Regions from separate parts of the Homo sapiens genome. Here all the other regions are linked to region 3. Evidence: promoter capture Hi-C in human tissues and cell types (Jung and others, 2019). All regions are on one chromosome and are shown on one strand. The core of a region is centred on a gene start or on the middle of the fragment in contact, and the rest is flanking DNA. Distances in the headings are between cores, read along the strand shown.

Region 1 (2,855 bases), core at 355-2,854, 1.0 Mb before region 3:
GCTGGAATGCAGTGGCGTGATCTCAGTTCAGTGTAACCTCCATCTCCCAGGTTCAAGCGATTCTCCTGCCTCAGCCTCCAGAGTATCTGGGAATACAGGTGCCCGCCACCACGTCCGGCTAATTTTTATATTTTTAGTAGAGGTGGGGTTTCACCATGTTGGCCAGGCTGTTCTCCAACTCCTGACCTCAAATGATCCGCCCACCTCAGCCTCCCAAAGTGCTGGGATTATAGGCGTGAGTCATCCTGCCCAGCCCAGAATGGGTTCTAATCCCAGCTTGGCAACTCACTAGGAATAGGAGTTTGGGAAGGCAGCATCCCCTAGGAGTCTTGCTTGCCACATCTGTGAAATGTGTATAAGTGTTTCACAAGAGCCTGGAGTCCCTGTGGACTGGAGGAGACGCTGCTCCGGGGAAGCTCAGATCCGTGCCCGGCACATAGTAAGTGCTCCATAAACTATCTCACCGCACTCTGGCTTCCACGGACAAAGGGGTAAAGCCAGCCAGGAACCAGCTTCCTGCTAGGTACAAAAGTCCCCCAACTGGGAAGTCAGGTGAGAAGACATACCTACCTCCCAGTGATCATTGCCTAAATCTGTGCTTCTCCTCACCTCCTTTGGAGCCTGAGCTCACCTGGGCAGGGGGCCAGGTAGGCAGGCATCAAACTCCTGGCCTCGACCGATTCTCAAGTCCCACTTAGGACTCAGGCAGCTTCCTCCCGTCCCCTCTGTCCACCATGACTTCCTGGAACTGGTTTAAGCAAGGGTGGCCATGGCAGATGTCAACACCCTATGAAACCCCTGGGGGTCAGTGACCTGCCTTGCCGCTGGCTCCAGAAGGGGAGCTCCAGGCCAGACCCAGCCATCCAGCAACTTCAGAGCATGCTAAGACTGGACTTCCAAAATTCCAAGGGCCCCAGGTCCCACTGCCAGGCCTAGCCGGGACAAGAACCCCAAAGCAGTTAACGGATAGGCCTTCCTACTTTTAAGCCACCTCGTCGCCACGCCCACCCGAGGGAAGTGGGCAGGCTTTGCCCAAGACCTCCCCAGAATCAGTTGGGGGCGCCAGGAGCTGGGGCAACCCCCACCCCCACCCGTGGCAAAACCATCTGTAGGGGAGGGGGCTTTGCGGTGGCGGGGGGTGTCTCTGAAAACCCCAGAAGGGAGGGCGGAGATTCTGCCCGCAGGAGGAAACTTGCCTGCAAATGGCGTTTCCAAAAGCAAACTGTTCAAAATTTAGAGAAAACCTGGTGGGCGGGGGGCGGTATTTAGCCCACCCCCTTCAATATCACCCCTTCTACGGGGCTCTTTCGCCCCTCAAAAGTCCCAGGAAGTGAGAAGAGGGTTTCAAAGTCTGAGCTTCGTTGCAGAAGTTGGATTTTTCTGGGGGGAGGGGTGACCAGCCTGGGCTGAAGACCCCTCCCCAGGCCGCAGAGTCCAGCAAATCCCACCCCGAGAAAGGCCCTCCCCGACCCCTCCGGCCCCTGGGGTGCCCCAGGACTCCATGGACACCGCCCCCCAGCTCAACTGAGACGCCCCCGCCACTCACCGCGGTCAACCGGACGTCCCAGGAACAGCTGCCGCGACTTCAAAACCAGCTTGGAAACCGTCCGGGCCGAGGCGGGGGTGGCTTTTACTGCGTGGTAGGTTGGGGGCGCACTGGAGTGACGGGCGAGGGGACCAATCAGGTTGAGGGATTGCCCGCGCCAGGCCCGCCCCTCTCCTCCCTGCCCCGCCTCCACTAGGCCCCGCCCCTCGCCAAGTCATGAAGTCCGGGAAGGACTCCACGCCCTGCCCCTGAAGGGGAGGGAGCACTCTTGGACCACGCCTGTCCCAGCCACGGGACCCCCGCTCCGCAGCTGGGGACCCTGTGAAGTTGGCCCTGGGAGGTGAGTGCGATCGGGGGCGCCGCACAGGTGCTGGGATTCCCCAGGTCGCCCATTTCCCCTATGGCCAAACTGAGGCTGCGAGAACCCTGGGAGAGTTGCAGGGTGACCCTCGCCAGCGCGTCAGGGGCCACGCCCTCCACCATGGGCTCCGACTCAGCTATATGTACACACACACACACACACACACACACACACTTTTTTTTTTTTTTTGAGACACAGTCTCGCTCTGTCGCTAAGGCTGGAGTGCAGTGACGCGACCTTGGCTCACTGCAGCCTCCACCTCCTGGATTCAAGCGATTCTCCTGCCTCAGCCTCCTGAGTAGCTGGGATTACAGACACGTGCCACCACGCCCGGCTAATTTTTTGTATTTTTAGCAGAGACGGGGTTTCACCATGTTGGTCTTGAACTCCTGACCTCAAGTGATCTGCCCGCTTGGGCCTCCCAAATTGCTGGGATCACAGGTATGAGCCACCGCACCCGGCCCAACCCAGCTATATGAGTGACTTGAACCACCACGGGAACTTGTCCAGCCTCCGGCCTGATCTGCCCAACATCAGACCACTTCATCCTCCCAGCACTGTATTGTCTTTTTAATCATCCCTATTTTGCAGAGAAGGAAACTGAGGCCTGGAGAGGGTCAGCCAGGGGCAATGGAGGGGTCAGGCTCCAGGCTCTGTGACTGCTGGATCAACCTTTTCCTGAAGCTGCCCCCACTTGGATTTTACCCCGCCCCTCTCCACCTCCCAAATTATTTATCCTCTTGGTCTATAAACCAAGGTCTCAATCTCAGATGGTCCAGGGAGGAGGTGAATATTTCTGCTGAGGAGGTGGCAGTGATGCCCTGCTTAGAGGGGCAGGGGAGAGCAGTGCCCTATGGGAGACCCACCTGGAGAGTCACAGATCCACAGGAAGTTCAAGCTGTAGACATGTCCTGCCTGTTAGGGAACAATTGGACCAAATGAAACCCA
Region 2 (2,820 bases), core at 171-2,670, 1.2 Mb before region 3:
ATATTCTAGAGCAGGCAAAGGAATCCCACCAGCCCACACCCCAGCCTTCCTGGCTGCCAAACCCCAGCACAACTGACCTTCTAAAGGGTCCAGAGAGCCTCCATTCCAGCTGCAGGCGTGGGACACAGACCTTTATAGGATAAACATGTCATGAATGTGGCAGGTTAATGGAAGCACCGGCCAGCCGTTCAGCCTCCCCCACTCAGGAGCTGCAGACTGTCAGGCCCGATTCTACCTGGCTAGATTCTAGCTCTGCCTTGAAGCCCTGCAGCACTGTCTGCATGCCCTGGACAGAATCTGGGAGAGAAGCCATCCCACGGGCCCCGATTCCCCTGGGACCCAGCAGAGGAATGCAGGGATTGGTGCCTACGGTCCACACCCCCTGGGCTTTAGTCCCAGCTCCTCGAAAGCAGGTTGGTTCTTGCCTGGGAGGCAAGTGACTTCCTCCTGGGGCCCCTGGGGAAGACCAGGGGGTGGGGGCCAAGGGAATAGACCACTTTTGATGGCTCAGAGGCAGCGTGAACAGGGAAGTGTCAGGGCTGGCCTAAGGCTGTGTGGGAAGAAGGTAGGCGGTTGGACAGGCCTGAGAAGGGAGGCTGAGAGAAGGGGGCTGAACCCTGTGGGCTGGACCCTTGGAAGACAGCTATGCTAACCACTACACCACCAACGCCTCGGCAGGAAAAAGAGTCTCTGGATACCCTTAATAGAGGGATCAAGTAGGGTTGAGGATCAGGACTGGATTGGGGAGACCAAGCCTCGGGGCGAAGGTTGGAGGAAGTGGTAAAGGAGTGAGGACAGGATGCAGGTCGAGGGAGGTGGCCTCTGTGCATATACAGCATTTGCATGGGGAGAGGGAGGAGATCGGGACCTCCAGAGCCTGCACGAAAGGGGAGAGGGTGTCAAGGTCTGCAGCTACGAGGACGTTCTTGGGTGCGGCCACCTCCGGAAGGGGTCAGAGCCTGGTGGCCTGGGCAGCAACGGGATGGGTGGGGAAGCCCATCAGGGAAGGGGAGAAACTGGGAGGTGGCCTGGCCAGCGCAGGAATCGGGGAGGGAAAGAAGGTGGAGGAGGGCCTGGGGCGGAGAGGAAACGAGGCAGGGGGCCGGAGGGACCCACAGACGGGTGCATGGAGGCTCCGGGGTGCGGGGAGGCCAGGCGATGGCGAGGGCAGGGTCAGGGCCGAGGCGGGGCCGGTCAATGGCGGGTTCAGGGTCGCGGCCGGGGCGGGACGAGGCGCGCGGGCGCTGCTCACCGGGACGTGGGGCGGCGGCCGGACTGGGCAGGTCGTCCCGGGTCCAGCGGCGCCTCACGGTCGCGGCTCCATGCCCGGGACTGCGACCCCGGAAGTGGCGGGAGCGGGGGACGACAGCCGCGGCGGACACAGGGGACCCGCCGGCTCAGGCACCTTTGACCCGGAAGTTGAGCGACCCAGGCGGCGGCCTGGGATTGGACACCACCAGGCACGTACCAAGGCGTCCGCGGCGCTTGGGGGGGAGCCCGCGGCGCGGCGGCCTAAGGTGCGTAACGCCCCATGAACGACATCTTCCGGTGGGTTAGGGAGAGACACCCCCCTGTGACTTGGTATCACTCAGTCAAACCCATGATCCCCCACTATTAAGGATATCCGGAGAGGATGCTACCTATCAGGGCGTTGGTGGTATAGTGGTTAGCATAGCTGCCTTCCAAGCAGTTGACCCGGGTTCGATTCCCGGCCAACGCATGCGGTACCACTTTTGCGAGTTTGAAATTTTCATTTTAGTTTTGAGACGGAGTCTCGCTCGGTCCCCCAGGCTGGAGTGCAGTGGCGTGATCTCCGCTCACTGCAACCACCACCTCCCAGGTTCAAACGATTCTCCTGCCTCAGCCTCCCAAGTAGCTGTGATTACAAGCGCACGCCACCACGCCCATCTAATTTTTGTATTTTTAGTAGAGATGGGGTGGGGTGGGGCGGGGTGGGGCGGGGTGGGGGGGGGGGGGCGGTTCACCATTTTGGCCAGGCTGGTCTCGAACTCTGACTTCAGGTGATCCGCCCTCTTCGGCCTTTCAAAGTGCTGGGATTACAGGCGTGAGCCATCAATCACGGAAAATTTTTTTAAATCCCATAAAAATGTCTAAAAGGCAGGAGGAAGGCGGAAGAGAAAGAATGGGACTAGAATCGTTCTTTCGGTGAATTTCAAATAGTATTACTCTCCGGTTAGGAAAAACAGCTGACCTGTTTCCGCCCGGGATCGAACCGGGGACCTTTCGCGTGTGAGGCGAATGTGATAACCGCTACACTACGGAAACCGGTAGGCGTCAGGGTTCTTTAAATTCTCCTATAGAGATAATGTTGCAGTGATAGTTGCGTTGTCCCACCAAAGAAACACTGGCTACAGTCAGCTAAAGCAATATCCGCTCTTCCTGAATATCTGTTATTGTATTTGATACAGTAGAGACCGAAAGAAGGAAAATAAGGAAGACAAAAAGAAATCCAATAAACACCCTTTCCAACACACCCACCCACCCACACACATGTTTATCACTTTATCATAAATCCACCTTCCATTAAAACAATGCACGTCAAACGGCCCACAAACCCATCCGGGGTCAAATGAAGCTTTTCATCTCATAGATATCAATCTATACTTGATATCACATTAGTTTCTGCAGATATTCACCATTTTGCTTTAGATCAAACTACTTTTTTGTGTGTTTTGTTTTTTGTATTTTTTAGAGAGAGTCTCGTTCTGTCGCCTAGGCTCGAGTGCAGTGGTACGATCATCCCTCCCTGCAGCCTCCACCTCCTGGGCTCAAGCGATCCTCCCACCTCAGCCTCCTGGG
Region 3 (2,842 bases), core at 50-2,549:
AGGCTTGGAGAAGGCTCCGATTGATGATCCTTGGGTCGGGGCGAACAGTGGGTCCTCAAACAGGGCCCACGTTTCAAGTCCTGGAAAACCCACCTATCTTAGCGGGCAGGTATATCCGATGTCTCCGTTGAAGGCCTTCAGTGAGGTGGCTTCGTCTCTTGAGGTTTATGTCCAGGATCAGGGCTGCTCTTCCACTCGGGGTCACAACCTCTGGCTCACCACCTTGTCAGGAGCCAGCCCACTAAGTCACGTTTCAGGCCTGAAAACCAACAACAAAAGATCCGTAAAGACAGAAATCCTGGGACTGGCTCCTAACAACGGCCAGTGACAAGCTTTGTGGCAGTGAGCAGAGGTGTCCCTCAGGCTCAGCTCAGTCTCTGTGGGTTGCAGGACCTGCCCTTGGAGGTGGGCCTGGGTGGGAGGTCTTAGGGCCCCAGGACCTGGGCCACCTGGGGCTTTTTTTTTTTTTTTCTTTTTGAGATGGAGTCTTGCTCTGTCGCCCAGACTGGAGTGCAGTGGTGCAATCTTGGCTCACTGCAAGCTCCACCTCCTGGGTTCAAGCGATTCTCCTGCCTCAGCTTCCTAAGTAGCTCGGATTACAGGCGCCCACCATCATGCACGGCTAATTTTTGTATTTTTAGTAGAGGCGGGGTTTCACCATGTTGGTCAGGCTGGTCTCAAACTCCTCACCTTGTGATCTGCCCACCTCGGCCTCCCAAAGTGCTGGGATTACAGGCATGAGCCACCGCGCCCAGCCCACCTGGGGCATTTTTGTTGCTGTACAATAGAAACAAGTTCTCTATATGTTCCCCAGGCTGGTCCAAACTCCTGGGCTCAAGTGATCCTCCCACCTAGACCTCCCAAAGTGCTGGGATTTCAGGCATGAGCCGCAGTGGCCGGTCAGAACCTGGGGCCCTTTTGAACTTTGATTCCTCAGCAATTTTGTCAGCCCTGGCTCGGGCTGAGAAGCCCCTGTGAAGCCAGAGAGGGAAAGGGACCTGTCCAGGGTCACACAGGAATCATGCGTCAAGCCTCCCCAGCCACGGACTTGTCTCCATCCAGGGCATTTCAGCCCCTGCAGGGCAGTGGCCTGCCCCTCCTCCTTGGAGCCAGGAAGGGATGCAGTGCCACAGGGATCTGGCTCTGTCCCAGGCCCTGTGGGGCTGGCAGTTGAGTAAGCAGTCAGGCTGGGCGCACCCATCCCTCCCCCACTCCCCACTGCCCAGCACAGTGCATTCATGCAGCTGGGCCCCACCCCATCTCCAGAGGCACCTTCCACTAGCAACAGTCTCCCCAGGCACAACACAGCTAACACAAGGCCCCGCAGGCAGGACTCTGGGACAGACGCAGGCCAGGTGAGCATCTGAACAAGGGGCAGTCGGCCAGGGTGGGCTTGCGGGAGTCCCCACCTTGACCTCTCTCCCTTCCAGCTGCCCAGAGCCCAGACCAAGCATGGACGCCGTGGATGCCACCATGGAGAAACTCCGGGCACAGTGCCTGTCCCGCGGGGCCTCGGGCATCCAGGGCCTGGCCAGGTGAGCTGTCCCCTCTCACCTTCCTGACCCCGGCCCCTGAGACCACTGTTCCAACCGTGTCCCCTGCCTCCAGGTTTTTCCGCCAACTAGACCGGGACGGGAGCAGATCCCTGGACGCTGATGAGTTCCGGCAGGGTCTGGCCAAACTCGGGCTGGTGCTGGACCAGGCGGAGGCAGAGGGTGTGTGCAGGAAGTGGGACCGCAATGGCAGCGGGACGCTGGATCTGGAGGAGTTCCTTCGGGCGCTGCGGGTGAGCCCCCACCTCACAGTCAAGGCGTGTGCCCTGGGCATGGGGCGACAGAGGATGCTGAGATGCGGAGACGGGGACTCCTCCCTAAGAGCTGCTGTTAAGAGGCGCCTGCTGGGGCATACAGCCCCAGTGCTCTGCACAGCGTCTTGGGGGTTTGGGTGTGCTACCCACCACCCCCAGTCACCACCTCCTGTCCCAGCCCCCCATGTCCCAGGCCCGGGAGGCTGTCATCGCAGCTGCATTTGCCAAGCTGGACCGCAGTGGGGACGGCGTCGTGACGGTGGACGACCTCCGCGGGGTGTACAGTGGCCGTGCCCACCCCAAGGTGCGCAGTGGGGAGTGGACCGAGGACGAGGTGCTGCGCCGCTTCCTGGACAACTTCGACTCCTCTGAGAAGGACGGGCAGGTGGGTGGCTGCGCGGGGGGCCCCCTCCCCAGGCAGTTCCTCGGCCGTGCCCCCTCACGGCCCTCTGTTCCCAGGTCACACTGGCGGAATTCCAGGACTACTACAGCGGCGTGAGTGCCTCCATGAACACGGATGAGGAGTTCGTGGCCATGATGACCAGTGCCTGGCAGCTGTGAGCAGCTCCGGCTCAGCCCTGCTGCCCTGGCCTGTCACTCCCCACCCCTGCCGGAGACCTCCCTTCCCTGGGCCCCTTCTCTCCTGGGCAGCCACACCACAGAGCGGGGAGGGGCAGGTGGGGGAATGGAGGCTGCAGGACTGGCTAGACCAGGTCCCTGCCGGTCCACCAGGCGGAGGTGGGACAAAGGTCCTAACAGGAGTCACTGGCTCAGGACCCCAGGGAGAAACGCTCTCCCCACCCACGCCATGCTGACCAGAGATCTTGCAGCCCCTGTGGATGCCCCCGCCGAGGTCCCCCGATCCCCGCACCCGGACTGCTGCTCCCTGCCCCTCCCTTGCGGGTCCCCCAGGAAGCCAGGTGACCCCAGGTGGGAGGCTGTGTGTGGAGGCCATCCTGGAAGGAAGTTTAGACCTGCCCAGGTGTGGAGCGAGGGGCACAGGGGCATCCTAACCTCAGAAACTGAAATAAAGCC

The links. Contacts are between HindIII fragments. The study calls those that stand out against the background at their distance.
Region 1: a contact is called between the fragment with the promoter of PLIN3 here and the fragment with the promoter of CAPS in region 3, in 1 of the 25 tissues and cell types used here (heart right ventricle).
Region 2: a contact is called between the fragment with the promoter of DPP9 here and the fragment with the promoter of CAPS in region 3, in 1 of the 25 tissues and cell types used here (stomach).

The regions. Positions count from the first base shown.
Region 1 is chr19:4,866,063-4,868,917 of GRCh38, forward strand. It overlaps PLIN3 (perilipin 3), which reads right to left and starts at 1,605. Exons shown (of 8, transcript NM_005817.5): 1 at 1,547-1,605. RefSeq lists enhancers at 573-922, 865-1,365 and a silencer at 1,583-1,762. The HindIII fragment of the contact is 15,856 bases long and covers 1-2,855 here.
Region 2 is chr19:4,722,422-4,725,241 of GRCh38, forward strand. It overlaps DPP9 (dipeptidyl peptidase 9), which reads right to left and starts at 1,421. Exons shown (of 22, transcript NM_139159.5): 1 at 1,253-1,421; 2 at 78-130. It overlaps TRG-TCC1-1 (tRNA-Gly (anticodon TCC) 1-1), which reads left to right and starts at 1,649; the gene lies at 1,649-1,720. It overlaps TRV-CAC3-1 (tRNA-Val (anticodon CAC) 3-1), which reads right to left and starts at 2,286; the gene lies at 2,214-2,286. LOC105372250 (a long non-coding RNA gene) reads left to right here and starts at 459. Exons shown (of 3, transcript XR_936274.2): 1 at 459-565; 2 at 2,199-2,288; 3 at 2,714-2,820. RefSeq lists silencers at 1,222-1,371, 1,602-1,691, 2,142-2,341. The HindIII fragment of the contact is 28,361 bases long and covers 1-2,820 here.
Region 3 is chr19:5,912,955-5,915,796 of GRCh38, forward strand. CAPS (calcyphosine) reads left to right here and starts at 1,300. Exons shown (of 5, transcript NM_004058.5): 1 at 1,300-1,355; 2 at 1,431-1,535; 3 at 1,609-1,786; 4 at 1,986-2,192; 5 at 2,267-2,842. The coding sequence starts at 1,453. The coding sequence ends at 2,368. The HindIII fragment of the contact is 10,666 bases long and covers 1-2,842 here.